Linked DNA regions of Homo sapiens: region 2 is linked to region 1. The links are contacts of gene promoters, found by promoter capture Hi-C in human tissues and cell types (Jung and others, 2019). All regions are on one chromosome and are shown on one strand. The core of a region is centred on a gene start or on the middle of the fragment in contact, and the rest is flanking DNA. Distances in the headings are between cores, read along the strand shown.

Evidence for each region. The method cuts DNA at HindIII sites, captures the fragments that hold promoters and counts their contacts. A contact is called where the count stands out against the background at its distance.
Region 2: a fragment that was not itself captured here is called in contact with the fragment with the promoter of C9orf152 in region 1 in 1 of the 25 tissues and cell types used here (spleen).

Annotation. Positions count from the first base shown.
Region 1 is chr9:110,206,075-110,211,464 of GRCh38, reverse strand. C9orf152 (chromosome 9 open reading frame 152) reads left to right here and starts at 3,306. Exons shown (of 2, transcript NM_001012993.3): 1 at 3,306-4,078. The coding sequence starts at 3,886. RefSeq lists enhancers at 3,636-4,136, 4,137-4,637. The HindIII fragment of the contact is 9,571 bases long and covers 1,483-5,390 here.
Region 2 is chr9:111,362,840-111,368,229 of GRCh38, reverse strand. ECPAS (Ecm29 proteasome adaptor and scaffold) reads left to right here. Exons shown (of 50, transcript NM_001364929.1): 47 at 1,603-1,708; 48 at 1,903-1,991; 49 at 4,571-4,642. Among named protein-coding and RNA genes, the nearest start is that of OR2K2, 35 kb to the right of the region's middle. The HindIII fragment of the contact is 3,873 bases long and covers 644-4,516 here.

The sequences.
Region 1 (5,390 bases), core at 2,057-4,556:
TTTACACAAATATTACCATAATGAAAAAATTGATCATTTACATAGAGTGATTAGCACATATCTGACCCACTGCAGTTTTAGATCAATGGTTATAACTATTGTTTTCATATGTCTAGCCTAGCCTCTCTTTTTTCAGAGAGGAATCTCCCTTACTCTTAAGGCTGAGAGCTTTGAATTTTTTAGTCTGTCTGCCCTGAAGCACTTCTTGACATCCTGAGTCCTTCTTCGTCATACTTGGCTCTCCTGTGGACACTGTCATTCATACACCTGCAAATCACAGTCCACTCCATAGGACAAGGTCCCCTCCTCATTGGAACCAGAGAGAAGAGAGCACAGGGAAGCCTCCATCCCTTGCAATCTTGCCCTCTTGATTCTCTAAGGCTAGATCACTAGGCTTCAGGGATGGGATAATCTCAGAGCGAACTTATTATAGGGGAGAGGAAAAGTGAAAGAACAGGGTAACTCAAGTTTTCCTGGAGTCTCCAGTGGAAAGAACTCCAAACTGAAGTTCTTCACAAGAACAGGATCCACCACTCCTGTCCTGCCCCCACTGTATACTGGGCTGACCCAGCCTGCTGCTCTCAAGCCAGCTCCCTAAGGGATTCCTTCTTCAAGTCTCTGAGTCTCTACCCACCAATGACTGGTCTTTGTATGGACAGGGTTATTGTCTGAGTCATTCTCTCTGGAGTGGTACCCCAGTTGTGAGTGATACCTGTTGCCACTCAAGTCTCACAGAATAGCTGGATCCCCTGGACAGGAGTGGACCTGGAGCCTCTGGTCTAAGTTATTTTACTGGAAGCTCCAGGGAGGGCTGTAGGGATGCTGGTTCCGGTAATGAACTAACCTGCTACATTAAGCACAGTCTTATCTCTCAACCAGAATGGGACATTTCATGTTCCATACAGTTTACATATATACAGAAAAACAAAATATTCCCTAGAATCACAAGACATCTTATTCCTACTCCAGCGTCTCCAGCCCTGAACAACTTTGAAGCTTATTTCCAGTTCCTCTGAAGGATATACCTGGATAATGAAAGTCACCCATTTAGTGGCAGCCACCCAGAACAAACTCCAGGCTTGATCATCTTTTTTCATTTATTTCTGAAGACTCCCTGGGATGAGATAGAGTTGCCAGTTTTTTCTTATACTATTGTTATTGTTATCACAGACCAAGGAAAGGAAAGTTTATTCAGTAAGTGCTATTGAAACAACTGGTCAATTATTTGGAGGAAAAAACCCCTAGATCCTTGCCTTATACCTAACACAACACCAAAATAAATTTCAAATGGATTAAAGATTTGAGTTTTAAAAGAAAGAGGAACTATATGAACTAAAAGAAGGAATTTAAGCTCCTAAAAGGCATTCAATCAGCAGTAGACAGCCTCAATTTACTTCTCATCAAAATATCCACAAACGCACCCATATAGAAAAAGACAAAAACTGTTAATACTAAAAGATGAAGGCTGACAAGTAAATGCGAAAATATAGTAGAAATTTCTACTGCCATTATTTCTCTCCTCCTCTTCTCTTCTCTTCTCTTCTCTTCTCTTCTCTTCTCTTCTCTTCTCTTTTCTTTCTGAGACAGGAGCTCACTCTGTTACCCAGGCTGAAGTACAGTGGTGCAATCATGGCTCATTTCAGCCTCGAGCTTCTGGGTTCAAGTGATCATCCCACCTCAGCCACCCGAGTAGCTCGGACTACAGGCATGTGCCACCATGCCTGGCTAATTTTTGTAGATACAGAGTTTCACTATGTTGCCCAGGCTGGTCCTGAACTCCAGGGCACAATCAATACACCCACCTCAGCCTCCCAAAGTGCTGGGATTACAGTTGTGAGCCATTGTGGCCAGCCTACTGCCATGATGTCTACTGCCATGATTTCATGGCAGGTGCAGCTGGTCCAGCATGGATGGGTTGCTCTTGCCTTCATGATAGAGTGATCTACCGATAAAAAGGTATGAGGAAGCTTTGGCTATCTCTCTCGGTATTTTTTTGAGACAGATTGAGCTCTAATCCAATGTGATTGCTGTACTTATAAAAAGGGGAAAATTGGGCACAGAGACACCCACATAGGAAGAACATCATATTAGGCCGGGTGTGGTGGCTCACGCCTGTAATCCCAGCACTTTGGGAGGCCAAGGCGGGCGGATCACAAGGTCAGGAGATCGAGACCACGGTGAAACCCTGTCTCTACGAAAAATACAAAAAATTAGCTGGGCGCGGTGGCGGGTGCCTGTAGTCCCAGCTACTCGGGAGGCTGAGGCAGGAGAATGATGCGAACCCGGGAGGCAGAGCTTGCAGTGAGCTGAGATTACGCCACTGCACTCCAGCCTGGGCGACAGAGTGAGACTCCCTCTCAAAAAAAAAATAAAATAAAAAAATAAAAAGGAAGAACATCATGTCAAGATAAAGGCAGAGATTAGGCAATGTTTTTGCAAGCCAAAGAATACCAGAGATTGCTAGCAAACCATCAGAAGCAAGGTGAGAGGCATGGAACAGATACTCTCACACAGCTCCAAGAAGAAACCAACCCTGCTCACACCTTGACTTTGGACTTCTAACCTCCAGAACTCTGAGACAATAATGTTTGTTGTTTAAGACATCCAGTTTGTGGGATTTCGTTATGGCAGCCCTAGCAAAACTAACATATACTACCCAGTGAAGATTTGCTCTCCATCTTCCACGGCTCCCCCACATCAAATGACTAGATCTTGTCTGGTTAATGTCCAAAATGTCTTGTAGGTTCAGGCTCTACTCTGTTTCCATTGCCTCTGTAGACATATTGGGTAATTGGGTAATCAGTAAGCACCGTGATAGGAGAAGATAGAAAGGGACTTAGTTGACCAAATGCAGCAAGGCTAGGTCAAAGCTGGTGTAAGAGGGAGAGGGTCTGGGATTCAAAAGCAATGTGGAAATGTTGAGGCTGGCAAGCAGAGAGTGAGGGGATGCCTAACTTACCACTTGGTTGGAGAATGCTGAGACGGCAGAGGCTGCACCAAATGTCCAAGGGGTAGGGCTGGCCCGAGGCCAAGATTCCCCTGGGCTCTGTCCCATGGCTGACTTTAGGGCTGAATTTTCACCTGGGGTGTGTGTTGGGGTCTGAGTGGAGATCTTGGGGAGATCTTTGCTACTGGGTTTCTTTAGGGTGTGGCCGCGGGGCACACATCCAGAGGCACCGACCTTGTGAAGCTCCCGAGGGTGTTCTTTGAACTACTGCAAACCCAACCGGCAGGTTTGCTGAAAAGTGGCCACGTTCCAGTCCAAAATGTGTGAGCAGAGCGCGAGCTTAGCACTCCCCAGCCCCAGTCCCAGCTCTGCCAGGAAAGGGGAGACTTCACCGTGGCACTGGGAATTGGATTCTAAACTTTAGGATCAAGCAATGGAAGGACCTGGAATAAGACACCTTCTTGACCCCCCTGAAGGGCTCTGAGCAGCTGGGCTTGCCTTTCTCTTTGCTCCCCCAGTCCTCCCCTTACTTCTCGGTCTCCCACTCCCCATCACTCCTTTCCCTGCCTCCTCCTGCCTGTCTCCATCTTCCTCCCTCTCTTTCTTCTCTCGCCCCATTAATCCCCGCTTGTCACTATCACCTCCTTCCTCCAGTCTTTCCCCCTTCGCTGCCCCTTCTTTCCTCTGACATTTCCTTCTCCTCTTACTGCCACTGTCTCCCACCTTTCTCCTCCCCCACATTTCTCCCTATCCCTACCTCCTCTTCCCCTTCATCTTTCTCCTTCCCCCTTATTTTTCTATCTCCTTCCTCAGTCCCACTCCTCTTTCCACCCTCCTTTTGCCCGTCACTTCTCCTTCTCCCTCACTGCCCCCTCCCTCTCTCTCCCCTCCCCAGGTCCTGCCCCACCCAGCTGTGTTTGCTTTTCTCCCGGATCCGGATGGAGGGGTTGCCCTGCCCGTGCCCAGCCCTGCCCCACTTCTGGCAGCTTAGGTCTCACTTAATGGCTGAGGGCTCCAGGACTCAGGCCCCTGGGAAAGGGCCCCCACTCAGCATCCAGTTCCTGCGAGCCCAGTATGAAGGCTTGAAGAGGCAGCAGAGGACCCAGGCCCACCTCCTGGTGCTTCCAAAAGGTAGGAATGGACAGGTGCTGGGGAAGGAGAGACTTACCATGGGAGACCTGAGTGGCAGAGCTGCAGGGAGGCAGAGCCAGGGCTTTGCCAGCCCTCCCTCCCAGTGGGGAAGAGCAGGGGAGGCGGGCTCAGGGCAGCTCTGCTCAGCTGTCCCACCTGCTAAGGGAGCCAGGGGCCTCAGCCAAGCACCTGGCTGCCAGCACTGTTCCTGGCCTCTGCTCTGATGTTCTAATCTTGCTAGACTGGTCAGCCTGGTGAGCCAGGCTTGGCCCCCCTGCTAGCCCAGGTATGGCGATAGGAGCTCTGCTTCCTGGCTGGGTCTAACTAAGGCACCTCCTACAAACCAGAGAAATTCACTCTGGAGGTAGAAGACATGGCGTTCCCAACAGCCTGGGAACTGTCTGGGCCAGAGGACGCCTAGGGCTCAGAGACCCATGAGGCATCCCAGGCTCATCCAGCCTCAAACATCAGGCAGGGAGGTGTGATTGGACACAGAAACCCCCTCATGGGGAGAAACCTCCTCCCTTTAGGAACTCAGATTTCATTCCAGGAGGGAGTTAGAGGCACAGGGCTCAGAAAGCAAGGGCATGTCAAATCCCAGCCCTTCCTCCTCTAACAGAGGAACAGGTTGAGGGAGAAGGGAAGATACCCTGAAAGGTCAAAGCTGGGCTCTGTGGGATTCTGTGGTTATTTGTAGAGTTCAGTAGACTCTTTGGGCTGCCCTTTGCCAGGCCAGACTGGGCAGGAATCAGGGGCCAGAGGGACCTCTCTGTCTAGGGCAGGAAGTGTGCTGCCTTTTGGGAACAAAAGTGGCACCTCTGAGCTGAAGGAGCCCATCTCCCATTACCTGGGCTGTTGCCAACCAATGGAATCCTCGTTCCTGGCAGGAGTGAACTGGCACAGCCAAACAGTCACCATCTCTGCAGGGCATAAACTGAAAGGTTCCTAAAGCTCTATCCCACCCTTGAGGGTATTTATTCATTCAGTTATTCAACAAACATTTATCAATTTAAATCCCTATCAAATGGAAACACAATGCTTAATACACCTGCAATTCAGACTCACAAATCTAATTGCTTAGTGGGGATGATCCAAAGACATCTCAAATTCAACATGCCCCCAGAGAATTCACTATACCCTGTGCTCGTCCTTTCTCCTGCTCTTGGTAACTCGGTACCCCCTTTCCCATCATTACTAGGTGCTAAATTATGGTTCATGCAAGGAGTGCCCAGGTGTGGCTTTCTCCGAGAAGACTTCTGACCTCCCAGCTAGGTCAGGGTCATTCAGGGCACTTTCAGCAGTTTGCAGTTCC
Region 2 (5,390 bases), core at 1,331-3,830, 1.2 Mb before region 1:
TTGGATGAGGTTGCAGTTAGTTTGGAGTCCCCTGACAGGGCCTTAACCTTGGGATGATACTACCCTTTACACTTGATCTTAGCCAAAAGGCCAAGAAGTGATGATGCTACCCTTTAAGCTTGCCTTGTGTTGGGTCCTACAGTGCATCCTGCTGAAGATCTTAGTATTCGTTTTTTTTTTGTTTGTTTTTTTTTTGAGACAGGGTCTTGCTTTGTTGCCCAGGCTGGAGTGCAGTGGTGCAGTTCTTGCAGCCTTTACCTCCTGGGCTCAAGTGATCTTCCTGCCTCAGCCTCCCAAGTATTTGGGTCTACAAGTGCATGCCACGACACCCAGCAAATTTTTTTTGAAGAGGTGAGGTCTTGCTATGTTGCCCAGGTTGGTCTCAAACTCCTGGGCTCAAGTGATCCTCCCACTTTGGCCTCCCTCTCAAAGTGCTGGGATTATAGGTATGAGCCTCCATGCCCAGCGACAATATTATTGAATGTTATAAAAAGTACTGTTGATTATTTGTGATTGGATATGTCTAGAATCAGTTAAGGTTCTCTTTGAGCCCTGTCATCCTTTGTGTGAACTTATATATTTGCTATGTTTATAGGAAGGGTTTCCCAGAAGATACAAATTTGCAGGTGGTTTTATTTCTTAATATTATGTTATAGACTGCCATGGAAGTCCACTAATATGATGCCATAAAGAGTATTAACTTTTCCTTGATAGGTAGAGAAAGCTAAAGTAGGGAATTATATGAGAAAGATGATACAAACATAAAGCAGTTTATTTTAATATAAGACATAGAAGGTTGTTAATAGAAATGTGCATTTATTGAGAACCAAGGCCTTTTCTTTAGGAACTTAACTGTTACACATTGGCTTCTCATATATATCTACAATTTCTGGGTTTTGTTTCTTTAAAACAGAGAAAGAAATTTCAAGCTCTTATGAGACAATCCTAGTGCAGAATTCTAGATTTTTTATTGCCTCCCCCCATTTTTACATTTGTTTGAGCCCTACTAAATCCTACAGTAATTAAAAATAACTTCGTTGTTGAGTTTTCTGCTGATTCATCAGTTGGCATAATATTAATTATATAGTTATAATTACAGTTGCAGTTGGCATAACAGGTTTATAATAAAGCACTGTTGACTCTTGGTAAACCTGCAATTTGCAGAAGCTTGTGAGCATCTAGAGAGGAGCTTCTGGCCTCCAGAGTTCTTTCTGTGGCTGTCATTCAGGGAGTTTTGAGGGGCAAAGGGAGTGTGGTTAAAGTGCTTTCTCAGTTCCATGGAGAACCATATGCCTTGAAAGTGAATATTTGTGAACAATTATATTGCACCTTTGTGGGGGCAGTTTCTGATCAAGGAAATTTGTTTGGGGATTGAGTACAAAGTCATGCTGAAGTTTTTGGGGAAATTTCAATGGCTTTAATTAAAAGTATTTATTGTTTTATTTCTCTTTTTCCTGCTTTTCTCTCTCTTATCCTCCCCACCTTCTCTCTTTCTCTTTCCCTCTTCCTTTCTCTTGCTCTCTCTGCCTGTCCCTCATTTATTCCATCTCTTGTTCTTTTATACTGTCTCCTGCTCTGTCCCACCTTGTCTTTTTTTCCCAGGTTGTTATCGTCAGGAGCTGTGCAAACTGATGTGTGAACGGCTAAAACTCAGCACGTGGAAAGTGCAGCTAGGAGTCCTGCAATCAATGAATGCCTTTTTTCAGGGGTAAATTGCTTCATGGCTCAGTTTTTTATTTTGTTCCTCCCCGCAGCATTTTATGTATAATCAATGGAATTTTTATACATTTAAAAACTGGTAGCTAAAGTGACAGTGATACATACAGATAGAAATTGTGACAGGAAAGTTTTAGACTGTTTCTTAATAATTGGCATTTGTACCTTGCTTTCTGATTTGTATAGGTTAATGCTTTTGGAAGAAGAACATGCCGATCCTGAGGCTTTGGCTGAAATTCTGCTTGAAACTTGTAAATCAATCACATATTCTTTAGGTGAGTGTAGTAAACTAAAACTGATGAGGGAGTCCTAATTTTAAAGCTAAGGAGCTGAGCTTCAAATATTTCCTACTTTGTCTTAGGAACTAAATTTCTGAAATAGCTACTGGACTCTGCTACTTATTATACTCCATGTGTACCCCTTAACTGGAATATTTAAATCTGGAACTATAACAGGATTTTAGCATCTAGTTTAGAAAAACCTTCGTGACAAGTATTTTTACAAAATTGTTACTTGAAAGTAATTTCAAACTTACAGAATGGTTGCAACGACAGTACATGTAATACTCTGCAATATGTATACACTTTATGCAGAATCATTTGTTAACATTTTGTGCCATTTGCTTTGTCATTTGGACTTCTATATACATGTTTTTCTCCTGAACCATTTGAAAGTATGTTGCTTACTTCAGGCCCCCTTGTTCCTCAATTATTTAGTGTGCCACGGTACAGTTGTCAACTTTAGGTAGTAAACATGGATGCAGTTTTTTAAATCAAATGTTTATCGTTCATATTCTAGTTTGTTCAGTTGATTCGGTAATGTTCTTTATTTTTATTTTTATTTTTTTTGAGTTGGAGTCTCGCTCTGTCACTCAGGTTGGAGTGCAGTGGTGTGATCTCAGCTCATTGCAACCTCTACCTTCCAGGTTCAAGCAGTCCTCCTGCCTCAGTCTCCCAAGTAGCTGGGATTACAAGTGTGTACTGTCACGCCCAGCTGATTTTTGTATTTTTGTAGAGACAGGGCTTCACGAAGTTGGCCAGGCTGGTCTCAAAACTCCTGAGCTCAAGCAGTCCACCTGCCTTGGCCTCCCAAAGTACTGGAGTTATAGGCATGAGCCACCACACCCAGCCAGTAATGTTCTTTATAGGATTTTTTCCCCCTCCCCTCCATTAGGGAATCCAGTCCAGGTGATGATGATGATGATGATGATGATGATGATGATGATAATGGTTATTATTATTTTTGAGACAGGGTCTTGCTCTGTCACCCAGGCTGGAGTGCAGTGGCGTGATCTTGGCTCACTGCAACTCTGCCTTCTGGGTTTAAGTGATTCTCCTGCCTCAGTTTCCCAAGTAACTGGAATTACAGGTGTGTGCCATCATGCCTGGCTAATTTTTGTATTTTTAGTAGAGACGGGGTTTCACCATGTTGGCTAGGCTGGTCTTGAACTCCTGACCTCAAGTGATCTGCCCGCCTTGGCCTCCAGGATTATTTATTGAATTTTATTGTCATATATTTTTAGTCTCCTTCAATCTGGAATACTTCGTCAGCCTTTCTTTGTCTTAGGACATTGACAATTTTGAAGAATAAAGTCCCCCCGACTTCCCTTTTTGAAAAAACAGAATGTTTCTCATTTGGTGTTTGATGTTTTCTCATGATTATATCCAGGTTGTGAATTCCCAGTTGGGATACATACATAAGTGATGTGTCCTCACATTAAGAGGCACACAGTGTCCATCTGTCATCATTTGTGATGTTAATTTTGATTACCTGGTCAAGGTACTATCAGTTTTTCTCTACTGGATAGTTACTATGTTTTCTTTTTGTGTCTAATAAGTAGCCTGTGGGAACAGATCTTAAGATCATTCAAGTAATTTGTTTCTCTTCTTTAAAATTTCTTCTCTATATTTAGCATGCATTGATGATTCTTCCCTGAACCAATTTTTACTAAGATGATTTTGCAACTCTAGCACTTTGTCCACATTCACCATTTGATAGTTGGAATTCTGTTGTAAGCAAGATTCTTCTCTTCTGCCCATGTTTTTATTTATCTGTTACTGGCATTGATTCATGGAATCTTTCCCCCTTCAAATGGTTTATAATTTAATTTTTTAAATCTAATTCGTTATTCCAGTTGTCCCAGATTTGGCCAGTGGAAGCCCTTTCAAGCTGCCTCCTGTGTCCTTTTGACAGGTCACCGTCACTCTTTGTAGCACTTTTGTACTTTGTAGCATAACAAGATGATAAGGCCCATCTCATGCCTACCCTGCTTTGGGCTTGGTTGTGTGTTGATTTTTTTGGTAGACAATTTCACCATGAACCAGACGCCGTGTCAAAGAGTGGATGCCAAGGAAGCATGTTTCATTCGCAGTTGTTGGCAGCAGCATCCTTTTATGGATAAAGAACAGGCAGCCAACAGACCTCTCTTTGCTGAGTTCCAGGTGTCCCTGATCGGCTTAAACACTGGGTCATATAATGTTCTTTGGTAAAATGAGGAGGGTCATGTAGACCTAAGGATCGTTCTTATCCGTGATACGAAGATGATTTTGTGTTTGAGATAGTTTTTTCATCTCCCACTTCTAAAATGGATCATTTAAATATTGCCATTTGTTGTGGTGATTGGTATACTTGGCTGACAGGTTTTTGTTTTTCCAAAGTAAAGACTGTGGACATTAGCACACATTTCAAGTATTTGATACTTAGCAAAGGGAAGCTTCCTTTAAAAAAAAAAAATCAGATATACCCTTCCCTAGAGTTGTAATTTCTGGACATCTTTCTTTCAGCAACACAAATTTAATCTTGGAGGTTGTGTTTTTCAGGCAGGCCATATGAACTGTATGATATTTCTTTTTAGAAAATAAGACCTACTCATCTGTGAGAACAGAAGCTTTATCTGTGATAGAATTGCTGCTTAAAAAACTTGAAGGTAAGTTGTTGTTAGTTCTGACTGGGGGACCATAAAGCCATGTGGCATATGTTTTAGAAATTTTTTGTTTCGTTTTTGCTTATACTCTTAAGCATATACTCTGAAATACAAATCAGTATGTATGCACATGCAAGAAGAATGGACAAAGCCAAAACTATTAAATTTTACTAAATATTTAAATTTGATACACTTTTATATATTTTTAATATATTATTAAGCTATAGTTGTCTTAAAGTAATAAAGTTTTTGTTTTCATCGTGAATCCTGATTTAATCTTGGTTAATTACAGGAATTGGTTGACAGTGGCATGTGTACATGTAAATAAGCAGAACGACACACTGAAAAGTGGAGTTGGAAAAACATTTTTAACAGTTATCTACCTGAGTCATCAAATCTGACAGTAGCAATTTTCTTAATCCTATTTCTTCTCCCCTAACCTCTTTTTCTTCTAATGGTCTATCAGTGGGTGGGGTGGGGGGGAACTGTTAGCATTTTCTCCAGTGGTGTATCTGTTACTGACTTCAGAAGGAGGACCCTCTTCTTTTTTCTCTCTCTCTCTCAAATTGTTTTCACGGATTAAGAATGTAGAAGATGGAAACGTTTTTCCTGCAACCTTGTGTATTTGCTCTTTCTACTTCTCTATCTTTGCTTAGCAATTAAAACACCTCTCTTAGGGCTCCATCAAACAGAACTTTTAGACTGAGTAACGCTAAACATCTCCTAATCCCTTTTTTCCTTGTTGAGATAA